Regions from separate parts of the Homo sapiens genome. Here region 2 is linked to region 1. Evidence: promoter capture Hi-C in 16 types of primary human blood cells and fetal thymus (Javierre and others, 2016). All regions are on one chromosome and are shown on one strand. Each heading gives the region's core, a stretch centred on a gene start or on the middle of the fragment in contact. The rest is flanking DNA. Distances are from core to core; before and after follow the strand shown.

What was found. Contacts are between HindIII fragments. The CHiCAGO score rates a contact against its expected background, and 5 or more counts as called.
Region 2: a contact is called between a fragment that was not itself captured here and the fragment with the promoter of CLBA1 in region 1, in 1 of 17 cell types (neutrophils). The highest score is 5.1, in neutrophils.

The regions. Positions count from the first base shown.
Region 1 is chr14:104,983,207-104,990,491 of GRCh38, reverse strand. CLBA1 (clathrin binding box of aftiphilin containing 1) reads right to left here and starts at 4,704. Exons shown (of 5, transcript NM_174891.4): 1 at 3,638-4,704; 2 at 1,404-1,549. The coding sequence starts at 4,060. RefSeq lists a silencer at 4,446-4,915. The HindIII fragment of the contact is 10,527 bases long and covers 1-7,285 here.
Region 2 is chr14:105,467,488-105,474,125 of GRCh38, reverse strand. It overlaps MTA1 (metastasis associated 1), which reads right to left. Exons shown (of 21, transcript NM_004689.4): 19 at 4,628-4,659; 20 at 4,134-4,285; 21 at 3,397-4,061. The coding sequence ends at 3,911. It also overlaps a transcript of CRIP2 not described here. Among named protein-coding and RNA genes, the nearest start is that of CRIP2, 4.0 kb to the left of the region's middle. RefSeq lists silencers at 1-62, 153-242, 253-302 and enhancers at 331-863, 2,419-3,282. The HindIII fragment of the contact is 1,694 bases long and covers 4,529-6,222 here.

The sequences.
Region 1 (7,285 bases), core at 3,455-5,954:
CCCTGTCTCTACAAAAAATACAAAAATTAGCTGGGTGTAGTGGCGGGTGCCTGTAGTCCCAGTACTCAGGAGGCTGAGGCAGGAAGATCGCTTAAGCCTAGGAGACGGAGGCTGTAGTGAGCTGAGATGGTGCCACTGCACTCCAGATGAGTACAGAAGAAGAGCAAATGTGCTAAACACCAAACCATTTCCAAAAATACCCCAGTGTTTCAGAACACACAAACCATGCTCTACTCCACCCCCAAAGTACCATCCAGCCTTCTGTCCCACGAGTGTCCAGCCCCGCCAAGTCCTGACACCCAGGACTCCCCATGCCTCTGGGTCCGCGAGTTGTGCTGCTGGGGACAGAGATGTCAATGCTGCCAGCACAGAGCCCACCCCCACCGTCAGCTTGCTGGGACCACATTCTCCACAGTTTTTCCCCAGGGATCATGCTTTGCAGAAGCACCACACACAGAGGGCACACGGGCCATCTGGGCAATGCTGGTTGCGGCCTTCTGGGCTCCAGGCCTCTGTCCTCAAGCCCCTGTAGAGGGTACCCTGGGGCAGGTGCTGGTTGGACCCCAGCAGAGGACACGGTGGGCCAGGGCTGGAGCCCAGAATGGCCTGTCTGCAGAGCTCTCTGAAAGTCCAGGCCTGCTCAGAGACACAAAAATCAGCAGGCTGACCTGGCTCTCCCCTGGCTGCTGGGAGACCCACTCCGCAGACCACACCGAGGGACAGGGAAGCTAGCTCACCCCAACCTTCACTTCCCTCCTCCCTCTGGGGCCTTGGGCCAACTTACCTCGAGCTTCTCAACCACTGCGGCCTAATCCACTCGAGCGCTGTCTGTCTTTCAATGCTCAGTTGAAAGTGTGTCCCTGGAAAATGGCCATCTGCGAGTGACTGCGGGTGCACTTTCCCCTAGGAGCCTGTGGCCCTGCAGGCAGCACCGGGAGCACCCCTGGGGCTGGGCCTGGGGCTGACAATGGGGCTCCAGAGTGTGGAACGTTTTCTAGAACTCTGTGGCTGAGAACCATGAGGCAGCCGGTGCCCACTCAGCCAAGTCCCCCAGAAGGCCCCTGTGCCCACTGCCCAGGCCCACCAGCCACTCGCACTGAATGCGAGGCCCCCACCCACTCCACCAGCACTGGCACTGAGACCCAAGGGGAGCTGGGCTTGGGTCCAGCTGCTCCAGGTGAGCTGGCTGGGGAGGAGGATGAATAGGGCTCAGAGTGGAAGGCCACAGCTGGAGCGCCAATCGTGCTGCCCCTTCTCATAGGACCCCTATGACCCACAGATGGCAGGGACCTCAGGAGAGATGCTACTCTCCATAAAGGCAAAAACAAAGCCTCACACACCTACTTTTATCAAACAAAAGTACAAAAGCAGTTGCTGTAAGAAATATTTCTTCAGTTCATTACCACAATTTATGTACACGTTCAACGCCAGGTTTTTCTTCACTGCTTATTTCTAGGAAATGGTCTATGGTGGAAACGTCTTCAGCTGCCTGCTGGACTGTTATTTCTTGAAAAGCACACTTTAAAATGTTCTCATAGCTGAGAATGGGCTGAAAAGAAAAGAAGAAAAGCATACCAAAGTTAGGAGAAAGACATACATAACGTTACCTTATTCCAAAGAAATAATTGTGATAGAAATGAAATTTGTAATTGATCATACCATTAGTGTTACTATCACTTGACATATTCATTCCTAAAAATCACCAAGTTAGCAAAATCACACAAAACCAGAGGACTCATGGGAAAGGTGGGGTTAGGGCAAAACATTCAAACTTCATCAGTGACACATGAAAAAAGATGACCACCCAATAATGTCAGTGCTGTTTTCCAGTTTGGTTAAGAAATTATACATGCGGCCGGGCGCGGTGGCTCACGCCTGTAATCCCAGCACTTTGGGAGCCCCAGGTGGGCAGATCACGAGGTCAGGAGTTCGAGACCAGCCTGGCCAACATGGTGAAACCCCCATCTCTACTAAAAATACAAAAATTAGCTGGGTGTGGTGGTACACGCCTATAATCCCAGCTACTTAGGAGGCTGAGGCAGGAGAATCGCTTGAATCCGGCGGGTGGGGGGCAGAAGTTGCAGTGAGCCGAGATTGTGCCACTGCACTCCAGCCTGGGTGACAGAGAGAGACTCCGTCTCAAAAAAAAAAAAAAAGAAATTATACATACTACAGTAAGCACAGCACTTTACCTTGGAAAAGACAAAGGCTCGCAGGCTGAGTTAGTGTGAAGGGGTAGGAGGAGGGTGGTCTGAACCGGGTGAAGTCCTAACACCAGGTGTTGACAGGTGTGCTACATTGGGGCACTAAGCGCTGTGTGAGGGTGTACGTGTGCGAGTCTCATGTATTCCAACGGGCCCCAGCTCAGCTGGGGGCAGTTTTCTGCATTTATCTACTCTTTCTTGTGAAATTTCAACTATGCTCTAATTGTTCCCTAATACATCAATCACGCTGGAAAACAAATCCTGTATTCAAAACAAGCATTACAGCAGACCTTACTCTATTAAGAGTGGATCTCATCAGGATTCCAGGGAAACTGCTTCAGAAAACAGTCCGGCCGGGCATGGTGGCTCACGCCTGTAATCCCAGCACTTTGAGAGGCCGAGGCGGGCGGATCACCTGAGGTCAGGAGTTCAAGACCAGCCTGGCAAACATGGTAAAACCCAGTCTCTACTAAACATACATATATATATATATATATAAAAAGTTAGCCGGGCGTGGTGGTGGATGCCTGTAATCCCAGCTACTCAGGAGGCTAAGGCAGGAGAACTGCTTGAACCCAGGAGACAGAGGTTGCAGTGAGCCGACACAGTGCCACTGCACTCCAGCCTCAGCGACAGAGTGAGGCTGTCTCAAAAAAAAAAAAAAAAAAAAAAAAAAAAAAAGAAAAGGAAGAGAAAACAGGCCAGCCCTGAGAACTACAATATCTTTATTTCCTTCCTCACTGGTTTTATTTCTGATCTCTCATGATGGTGCTTGGGATGAACCATTTGGGAAGAAGTGGCAGAGAAAGAGGAACAATGGAAGGAAGAAGACAGGAAAAGAGAAGGAGCGGAAGTGTCACCAAACGGTAAACACCCACAGTCTGCTCTGAAAGAGAGCAGGGGGCAGGGGCCTGAAGGCTGGGACCCTGGCTCCCGGACAGGTCGGAATGGGCATCACCCAATTCATTACAAGCTCCCGGACAGGTTGGATCCCGCGTCACCCAATTCATTACAAGCAAGTTGAAATGTGATCATGTGATTTTAGAATCTCTGAGACTTTTGAACTCAGCAGATTCAGAATTCAGACAAAAAGCTCCTCCTCAAATGCCCTGAGCTGGGGCCAGTGCAGCCCCCACCAATGGGGAATGGACAGGCTGGGGGAGGAATGGTCAGAAAGAGCGACCCAGCTCAGGTGGCCCCCACCTGGCCTTCGTGTGACCCATTTCTGCAGCCTCCTCTGCCAACTCATTGCTTCCCTGGCCTCAGGATGGGACTGCCAACCACATGGCCAGGGACGAAGGCCAGGAGAGAAGCAGACGCTCTGGGGCTGTCAGCCCCCTCCCTGGCCAGCACGCCACAGCATTCGAGGGCTGTAGGCCTCTTGGTGTGTACACGTCCCACTCAACATGGTGACCACAGCACAGCAGAAATACCTCAGAAGGTGGGACGGCAGAAGTTCCTGTCACCCAAGGTCCACCCTGGCATGGTTGGTGAGAACTGCACTCTTTTGGGGCAGAAGTGGTTCTCGGTGGCTGGGGTTCTGTGGGTCCCTCGAGGAGTTCAAGGGACTGTGAGAATTGTCCAGACTTGGCTGAAGATTCCCGAAAGCCTTCAAACTCCCCCCAAGTGCTGCTGTGTTCCCCAGGGTCAGGACATCGGGCAGTGCAGGTGGAACCGCCCTCACGGGGCATGGAGATGCTGGCTTTCCCATCGGACAGGAGAAGGTCGGGGCAGGTCCGTCTCCATTCCAAACTGTCATCACTCAGCCTCTCAGGTGCCACTCGGAGGGAAGCGCTGGCTGCTTCCTCCTGGAGGTCACTCAAAGGCTCTCCCCCCAGCTCCCGCCGGCCTTGCATCTTGGAGCCCCCAGGCCAGCAGAGGCCCGATGGGCAGCTGCTCAGGAGACATGCACGCCGGGGTGCTGGCCGCCCAGGACTGCCCAACCTTCCCCTGCCCTGGAGAGGGCCAGGGGACGCTGCAGGAGTGCCCCGGGCTGCCCAGTGGCTGACGGTGGAAAGTGCCCACGTGCTGCTGTGGAACTGACACAAACCACAGGAATGGCCCGGTCGCCCGGGAGTCCTGGCTTCCTCCCACGCAGGCGGGCGCGGAGTCCGACACAGAGGCGCGTACCAGACCCACGGCAGGTGTGAGAGGGGCGGCCCAAGGTGGGGCTCCTGCTCTGGAGAGAGCCGCGAGGGGGCCTGGGAGGCCCACGCTGGCCAGAGGAGCGAGAGCCGGGCGCCCGCGGGAGTCCCAAGTGGGAAGGAGTGGGTGCGGCGCCCCGGGGCCTCCCGAGAGTCCCTCTCGCACGCGGCCCGCAGAGCAGCCCTGGAACGCCTGGGCCTGGACAGGGCCCGAGGTGGCCGGCTAAGCGCCTGGCCCACGGCTCCCGAGAGTCCCCGCACCCACCTTGGTCGCCGCCTCGGCGGGGCCGCGCGGGACCAGGGCGAGAGAAACCTGCAACCAGCCGTTCCCTCCTGCCTGCGCCGCCCCGTTGCCTGGCAACGGCGTGCGCCAGCTCCGCTTCCGGCGTCCGTCGCCGTGGCGTCAGCACGCATCCGGGGCGAGGCCAGCGCCGGCCCCCGCCGTTCAGGACCCGCCCCGGACCCGCCCTCCCTGCCCCGGGCCGCCTCCGCTGCGGGTGGGATCGGGCTTCCACACTGGCCGAGCCCTGGGCGCCGGGCCGCTCGAGCTTTCTGTCCGTGCTCAGTTCGCCGCCCGAGTGGTTCTTTCTTTTTTTTTTTTTTCTTTTTTTTTTGAGACGGAGTCTCGCTCTGTCGCCCAGGCTGGAGAGCAGTGGCGCGATCTCGACTCACTGCAAGCTCCGCCTCCCGGGTTCACGCCATTCTCCTGCCTCAGCCTCCCGAGTAGCTGGGACTACAGGCGCCCGCCACCACGCCCGGCTGATTTTTTTGTATTTTAATAGAGACTGGGTTTCACCGTGTTAGCCAGGATGGTCTCGATTTCCTGACCTCGTGATCCGCCCGCCTCGGCCTCCCAAAGTGCTGGGATTACAGGCTTGAGCCACTGGGCCTGGCCCTAGAGTGGTTCTTTCTTCCTCACGACGAGCTCCCCAGGTCCGTCCCAGCGCACCCGTCACCCGCAGCCCCTTCTCCCGGCGCCCCGCAGCCTAACTTGCCGCGCCGCCGACCCCTCTGTGGGTGCAGCTGAGCGACGGCCCCTCAGGACCCCACCTGTCCCTGGCGAGAGCCAAGTCCGTCTTGCTGACTCCTGAATCCCAAAACCTCGCCCGCCCCTAACTCGTCCCCATTCCTGGGGGAAGGAGCTGCGGGGAGGCTCCACCCCTCCCTCGCAGGCCGCATGGAGTGCTCCCCTCCTTTGTCACCAGCCAGACCCGGGCAGAGCAGGGCTGACGGACAGCCCCTCTCCAGCCACTGGACGACCAAGGAGCTAGGCTGGCCTCTGGCAGCTCCCCTCCGGGCTTCCAGGCCTTCTGCCATCTGCCCTCACCCCCAGACTCAAGGAGTCAACCTTGACTCCATCTCCTCCCTGGCCTTCCCAGACTGGCCCCCATCACTGCCTCCTCTGGGTAAGGGGAGGGCCTGGCCCTGGTGAAGCCCTGAACCATGCCACCTACTGTCCACCCCCTATCTACCTCAGGCTCGCATTTCTCCCACCCTGGGGCCTGGGGCCCTGCCTGGACTCTGTCCTTGCTTGAATCACCCCTTCCCTCCCTGGTCCTTCTCAGCCAAGCTACAGAACAATTTAATTTTACAAATGACAAGATGAGATCATTCTCTGCACCTTAGACCCAGCCTCCTGTCCCCGCTCCTTCCTGAGGGGCAGAGCAGCCGGGCCATGCAGTATGGAAGCTCTTCGGTCAGACTGCCCAGGACTGGATCTTGGCTTGGCCACCCCAGCACCGCAGTGACCCTAAGGATGGTGATCAGGAGCTGGCTGGGTTTGTAGACCAGGCCTGGGCCTGTCTTGCCAGCTTAAGGGCAGTGTCCGTTCCCACTGCTGCCCCTCATCCACTGCACGTCCTTGCCGTCCTTGAGGCCCAGGGAGCTGGGAGGGGGGCAGGAGGAGTGTTGTCCTTGTGTACAGGTGGGGAAACTGAGGCCCCACCCCAAAGGCCTGCGTGAGAAGCAGAGCTGGGACAGGAGCTGCTCTCCTCGTTCTCTGCAATTCCCCACCCCCGTCTGGGCCTCAGCTTCCACGTGAAGAGCGTGGGGAGCACAGTACTCCCAGGGTGGTTGGAGGATAGAAATGACCCATATGGGTTGAAGAGCTGGTGTGGCAGTTGAACAGCCCCACAGAGATGTCCACATCCTAACCCCTGGAACCTGTGGCTATGTGACCTTACAGGGTCAAAGACACTTTATAGATGGGCTTAAATTAAGGCTCTTGAGAGGAGGAGTGGAGCCTGGATGAGGCATGTAATCACAAAGGTCCTGAGAAGGAAGCAGGAAGGTCAGAGTCAGAGAGGAGACGCAAAGATGGAAGCAGAGCCGGAGTGATACGAGACTGCAGATGCCTCTGGAGGCTGAAGGGACCAGAAAACAGATCTCCCCTGAAGCCTCCAGAAGGCACACCATCCTGCCCACACCTAGAACTGGAGTTGATAAATGCGCACATGCTGTTTTCAACCACTGTGTCGGGGGTATTTTGTTATGGCAGCAGCAGGGAACTAATATGCCTGAGTGACCCCTTGTGACCCACTGAGAAGTGCTGCGTCGGGGAAGCCAAGGTGCAGAGGAAATGGCAGCGGCAACCTTGACATCAGGTGCCCAACCCTGGTTGCAGGAGGAGGTGGGGGCAGCCCAGGTGGCTGCTAGGCCGCTGCTGGCTTCTTGGGCCAGCTTCTGGGCAGACCATCCTGCTTCATGGCACAGCCTGAAAGGCACGAGCTGAGGATAAGGCTTCCAGGTTGGCGATTGGAGCAGGCACTGCTCAAATTGAACTGGCCCAGCTGCTAGGGGAGACTGGGCCGGAGAGGGTGGGTTCCCATTAAAGCCTGGGTGTGGGGGACATTAGCCATGACTCCCGAGGGGCATGGAGGGGGCAGGTGGAGTGTGGTCGGGACGAGGAGCCCATGTGGCCCTCCCAGGACCTCTCCA
Region 2 (6,638 bases), core at 4,126-6,625, 480 kb before region 1:
AAGCTGCTGGTAGGGGGTGTGGGGAGGTCTGCGTCTGCCTCCCAGGCAGGGAAGGGGCGGCGGGCACCAGCGCCGAGGGATCCGCGCTTAAGGCGTCCACCCCAAGCACTTCCACCCAGGGGGCGGCCGGGGAGGCGGTGAGGAGTTAGGAAGGGAAGGAGGGGAAGGAGTGGGCGTGCCCTCTGTGCCCCGGGCTGGGGCTGACACTCCAGTCCCTTCTCCCGCACCGCCCAGGACCAGCTGCGTGCCTGGGGGCCCAGGGCCTGACCTCGAGGGGTCAGGCGGGAGATTGAGGGGTCATGCCAGTCACCGCACCCCCACACCCCCACTCTGGCCTCCTCCCAACCAGGGCGTGCCTGACCACGCCTCACCACAGTGCCTCCGCCCTAGAGCCCCGTAGAGCCTGGCCCCAGGTGGGGAACCTCCGCACCCACGGGCTTCCTGGTGCTCTGTCCCCATGGGCCCTTCTCTGAGCCTTCTGGCCCCAGCTGAGCGTCGGCCTGGGAGACAGGCAGATCCCAGAAGCCCAGTGATCAGGCCCTATGGGGGCAGCTGACTCTGGACACCCTTCCCCCTGTGTCTTGGAGGCTGTGGGCTGGACACGGAGACCTACCTGTTCCCTCTGCCTGGTGCACCAGGCATGTTTGTGAGCCAACCAGAGGCCCTCGGTGCTCCTGGCTTTCATGGTGGTCCTGGCTGGGCTCTCTGTGGCAGCACCCTCCTCCCTTGCACACACACCCTGCAGCCACTGCCATTTCCATGGTGACAGCAGGCCAGAAACATGCCCCCCGCCCCCCCGCCCGACTGACCAGCCTGACCAGCTCCCCCTCTGCACTTGGGACCTGTGCCAGCCAAGGCAGAAGATGGTGAGGAGGCATCAGTCAGTACCTTTTCTGGGCAGCCCTTCCTCCCTGGCAGGCCCAGGGGTCCCTAGGGGTCCCTCACAGCAGGGCCTTGCCCAGGCTGGATTCATGGGCCCACTGCCAAACCCTCTCCAGCTCCCTGCCCTGTTCTGCCCAGCTTGGGAGCCTGGGGCTAAGCCATTACCCTCCCTGACTTTGCTACCTGTGGGGCTTGCTACCTGTGGGGCTTGCTCTGGAGGACAGGGCTGGCTGAACACAGGGCTCTTCTGGAGGGAGACCACCTGCCCCAAGGTCCCCAGCCCTGCCAGAAGAGTGGATGGGGGTAGAGGCAGGCCCCTCCCAGGGTGGCAGCAAAGGAATGGCATTCGGCACTGGCCAGGTGCCCTGGAGACACACGGAGGGTGGGGTGGGACAAGGAGTGTGCCAGCTGCTGCACTGCCCTCACCCCAGCCGCAGTCCCTGGGCAGCGGCCAGAAGCTCCCTAATGCGACGGGGCTATTCTGGGCCTGGCAGGCAGGGGTCAGGATCAATGGGTGCAGAGCAGTGGCCTTGGTCTCCACCTCTGAGGCTGCGGTGGGTCACAGGCAGGGGCAGTGACACAGTGGGACGGGCCCGAGTGGAGAGGGGGGCACAGGACACGGCGGGTGTGAAGGGAGCTGGCAGGGCTGATGGCTGGGCATGGGGCTGGGTCACACCCCTGGGCTGCAGTGGTCTGGTCCCTTCCGCCATCCTGTGACACTGGCAGATAGCAGGCCCCTGCTACTCAGCTCCACTGCAGGGAAGCCAGGCTGGGCTGAGTGGTGGACAGAGGACCCTAGCAGGGTGGAGCGGAGCTGGCAGGACAGGTCTCCAGGCATGACAGCATGATGGCCTTGCCACCCTGAGATGCCCCTGGCCCTGGGGAGCCGCGGCCCCTGTGGGGTTGCTGGTGCAGAAAGCAGGCTGCTGTCTCATCAGCAGGGAAGGGCCTAACGAGGACATAGCAAAGCTGGGAGACCCCTTCATGGCCTGGGCACCAAGGCCAATGCTCCCCCCAGCCGGTACCCACTCACTTCTAAGCCCAGGTTTAGACCCACAAGCAGCCCAGGCCCCACCCAGCACCGGTGGCCAGAGCTTGGCCCTGTGAGGGCACTGCAGCCTGGGTGTCTGGCCGGGGAGGGTGTCTGGGGTGGGAAAGGGCCCCACATCTCCTCAGGGCCTCCCTGCCCTTGGGATAGAGCCCAGGACCTAGGACACCTCACAGCCCACATGTTGACTCCAGAAAAGGACAGGCCCTGGGGGGTGGAAGAGCTGCTGAGGCCAGAACCCTGCAGCCAGCACTGGGAGGCAAGCCCGAGGCCTGGGGAAGGGAGACAAGGGAGCTGGGGTCTTCACTGAGCTCCAGACCCCCAGGGTTGGAAAAGGCCTCAGAGGGAGCTGTGTCCTTCATGAGGTCAGGGGCCTGATTTCCCAGCCGTCTGATGACGCACTACAGGCAAGTCCTCAGGCTGTGGGGTCACTCGGATGCTGGCTGCAGATTAGAGTTGGCTGGTGGGGGCTGGGGTTGGGTGGGGGGGCGCCACAGCCCAGGGAGGGTGGGTGGGACGTGCACTGCAGCCGAGTCCCTGACACCTAGTCCTGTCACTGCTGGGCCCCAGCACAGGCTCCCACGGAGGCCAGGACGCCCCCTTATCTTTGTCTCCTGGGAGACAGCAGAAGTGGTTTCTATTTTAATTCCGTGGCTGAGATTTCCACATGACAGGGCGCCTGGGTGGGCTGGGGGAGCAAAGGCACAGCTCTGGGGAGAGACAGAGGAGCTACTCTCCCTGAGCGAGGCCTGGGCGGACCCCTCCTGGCCGGCTGAGGTAGCACGGCCAGGGGGGTGGTCTGGAGCCAGGCTATCCACCGGACCCCTCCTTCTGGTGGCCCGGCCTGTACCTGTCCCCCGGCCTGCAAGTCCTGTCCCCGGCCGGAGGATGGGCCAAGCAGGATTTCTGAGAATGTGCTTGCAGAAATCTAAGCAGATTCTCACTGTGGAGACTGCACACCTGCTTGGGGGCCAGAGCTCTGGGCAGAAACCCTCAGGCGGCTGGGGCCAGGCTCTACATGGCCAGGAGGTTGGGCCTCTGGCTGGAGCACTCCAAGGCCTCGCTGGCCCAGCTGCACTGGCTGCCCTGGTGGGAAGCCACAGGGTCTTCGGCAGGGCCAGCTCTGCCTGCCGGGAGGCAGTCCCCGGCCCACCGCTGCCGCAGACACAGACGCACAGACGGTTTCAGCACAGCTCTGCTGGGGAAGGGGGTTGGGCCCTGCAACCGCTTGCTGCCCCCTGGGGAGGGCAGAGGGCACCGCGCCAGGCCCCAGCAGGGGAAGGTCTGTGGGCAGGTGGGAGAGCAACAGAGCCCAGAGGCTGGGGTGGCTGTCCTGGCTGAGGTGGCCTCCAGGGGCCTCCAGCTCCACGGCAGAGCCACAGCCTAGGGCCGCCCGATGGGGGTGGGGGGCCCAGGGCCTGAGTCAGGGAGAGGGACTGGGAACAAAAGACACAGGGAAGGACCGGTTGGTTTTTTTCCTTTTTATAAGATTTTTTTTCTTTGTTTTTGTTTAATATGAAAATTACTTGAAAAGACAAGGGCCAACCCCGCCAGGCAGCTCGGCCGGCCGCGGCCGCACGATCCTAACATTCCAGGTGTAAGTTACAGAGCTCAAGTTCATCTACAAAAAAAGTAATAAAAATAAAATTTAAAATGGCACCTTCAACAGAACACAACAAAACCTTAGGGCCCGGCCTCCGGGCAAAAGGCCCCGCAGCACAGGGGCACGGGGTGGCCCCTCATCTCCGCTCCAGCCAAAAAGTAAACACAAAGCTAAAAACGACAACTCCTCGGCATTCTCGGAATAAGTTAGCCGCGCTTCTTCCTCTCCTCCCCCAGTGTCCGCCAAGGAGCGCGTTTCTCTGCAGGTGAGGGCGGGAGGTGGGGCACTACCAAACTGAGGGGCGGGCGGCGGGCTGGCTGGGAAGGGGCCGTGTGGGCGGGCGAGGGGCGGGGGGCGGCCGCAGGTGGGGGCGGCCCCTAGTCCTCGATGACGATGGGCTCGTCGTTGACGGGCGCAGGTGGCGGTGGCCGCGGCGGCAGGGCCTGGCTCTGGCGCAGGGCGATGGGCTTGTAGGGCCGGCGGGCAGCACGCTTGGTTTCCGAGGATGAGAGCAGCTTGCGGATCTTCCTGTGGGCAGAGGTGGTGGTGAGGGCCGGGACGCTGTGCGGAGCCCTCCCGCCTGCCCTGGGAAGGCCCCACCTGGTCTCCTCTGTGGCCATGTAGAACACGTCATCCGGGGCGTCGATCCAGTTCATCCGCCGCCGCTTGACTGGGGGCAGGGAGCCCCCCCGGATCAGGCGCACTTTGGTGGGGTAGGACTTCCCGTTGAGCAGGAGGTTCCGGCTTGGTCCCTGCAGAGGGGGTGCACTTCCTGGGCAGCCAGCCAAGGGCCAGCTCCACCTCAACCTGCAGGGCTCCCGCTGGGAGGTGCTGTGCCTGGCCAACCCCCCACCACCCCAGTGAGTTACACGGACCCCCAGCCTGGCCCAGGGCAGCCCTGAGGGCTGGTCGGCCGCACACCGCTGGGCCTGGCACAGGGGCCATGGCCCCCACATGCTGCAGCCCCTCTGGTCTTGCCAGGCCTCCTGGAAGCTTCCACGTGGCACCTGGCAGGGCTGGCCAGGCCTCTTCCCAACACCCCAGAGAGCTCATGGGTGAGCGCACCGTACCCCATCATGGGTTGTTCCTCTTACCATGTGCCTGGCCTGTCCGTGGTTTGCCAGACCTGATGAGAAATGGAGGAGAGAAATGAGGCCCCGAGAGAGCGCGTCCTGCACTCCCACCGCCCACCACGGCCTCAGCCACCTTGGGACAATGGGCCGGGGCCATCTGCCAACCAAGCCACAGCCCACACCCAGGATGGGCCTGGGGGACGTGGGGCCTCGCATCCCCGGGTCCTGGGCCGCCTGGTGGCCCCACAGCTCTCTGGCCAGCAAGAGACACATTGGCTTGGGCTCCAGGCAGGAGGCCAGGAGCCTTGGACCCGACAGTCACCTCCCTGCACAGGGGCCGGGGCTGTCCACCCACTTGCCTGCCGTGCCGAGACAAGCAAAGCCTCGCAAGGCTGTCAGTCCAGCAGCGGCACAAGCCCCTCTGCAGGGCAGCCACGCTGTGGCCGGCACTGCCCCACCAGGAGGCCGGGCTTTTTCCTAAGGCTCTGAGAGAGCCGCCAGCCCCGGCCAGAAACAGGTCACCACCCACTGCCCTGGCTGGGCCCCAGCCACCCTGGCATGTGCTTGGGGATGGGGTGCCAGAGGCCTCTGACTTCCCACAGTGCAGGGTGAGGAGCCCAAGGGGCACTGCGGGAGTTGGGCCAAGAAGCGGGGTCCATGCTCCTGGTCACCCCCAGCTGGGCCCAGGACCGCCGCTGCCCTCCCCCACTCACTGCCCTTCCCCACTGCCCTGTGTGTAGGTGTGGGCGTGTGCATGTGGGAGCTGGTCCCAGGATGGCTCGGCTCCCAGCAGGACCAGCTCAGAGAGGACAGGATGTCATACTCAACTCAGTCAGGTGCCAGGGCCCAGGGGCATCGGAGCAACCTGCCAGCTCCAGAAACGCTGCTTAGCTGAGGCCCATCCCTTAAGGAACAGAAGCAGCCTGTCCAGCCCCTCCCCACCTGCAGTTGCCTCCTAACTTGGGGCACTCCCCTGGGGGCCAACTGGGGCCCTGGAGCCCTGGGTCAGCCTTTCCCTGCCAGTTTGCTTAGCTCTGCCGGGCAGGGTCAGGTGGGGGCCCAGGTGCCTGATCTGCGGCGCTCCCAAGCAGGAACAGCCATACCTCAGGGCACCTGCCACAAGCCAAGGCCCAGCGCCCAGGGCTGGCCAGTAGCACAAAAACTACTTACCCAGGTAAGTGCCTACCAGAGCGGTGGACAGCAGAGGGAAGAAACACATGCTTTAGGTTAGTGAGCCACACGCAGCCATCTGCAGGCCCCGCAGGTGGGGACAGCGCAACAGGCTGCACGGGCAAATGGCCGGGTTAGAGCGCTGGGGCCCCGTGCTGTGGGCAGGCAGGGCCCTCACTCGAGCTCAGCTCATGCCTACCCAGGCTGGACAGAGACCCCACCTCGTGTGCGCCAGTGCCCCCGGGAGCCGTCTTCACCCAGCTGGCCCCTCTCCAGCGCCCAGGTCCTGGCCGCTACACGTCAGGACAGGCGCTTCCTCTGTGGCTGACCCCTCTGAGCCCAGGGCCCCGCCCAGCCAGGCGGCAAGGGGTGATGCTCCCTCACAAGCACTGCATGGCTGGGACTCACGTGTGAGGTGTGGAAAATTCAGTGGGAACAAATAAGCTTTTATGTAACTTGCTGGTTAACCGCTTTTTACAAAACAAAACAAAAAGCTCGAAGATGCCTGCTGACAAGGACTCCCTCCTGTTTCTACCAGCTCTTATGGGGCTGTTCCTGGGACGCCCTGCCATTAGGAACAGACAAGTAAAGCCAGCCCAGAGTGGGCTGGCCCTGGGCCCAGGACTAGGCAATGGGGGCAGCCCCAATACCAGATGGCTGGGAGGGTGCCCCAGGAAAGGAGGGCTGGGGCTGGGGCCGAGACACAGACACCGCCAAGGGATGTCGGGAGGAAGCTGCAAGGACAGGCCAGGGGTGCGTGTCCAGACAGGTGGAGATGGGGGGCCCGGCACCCGATCTCAGGCCCACCCTGCGCTGCAGCCGGCGTGCTGACCCCACAGGACGTGCCTGCCAGGACACCCAG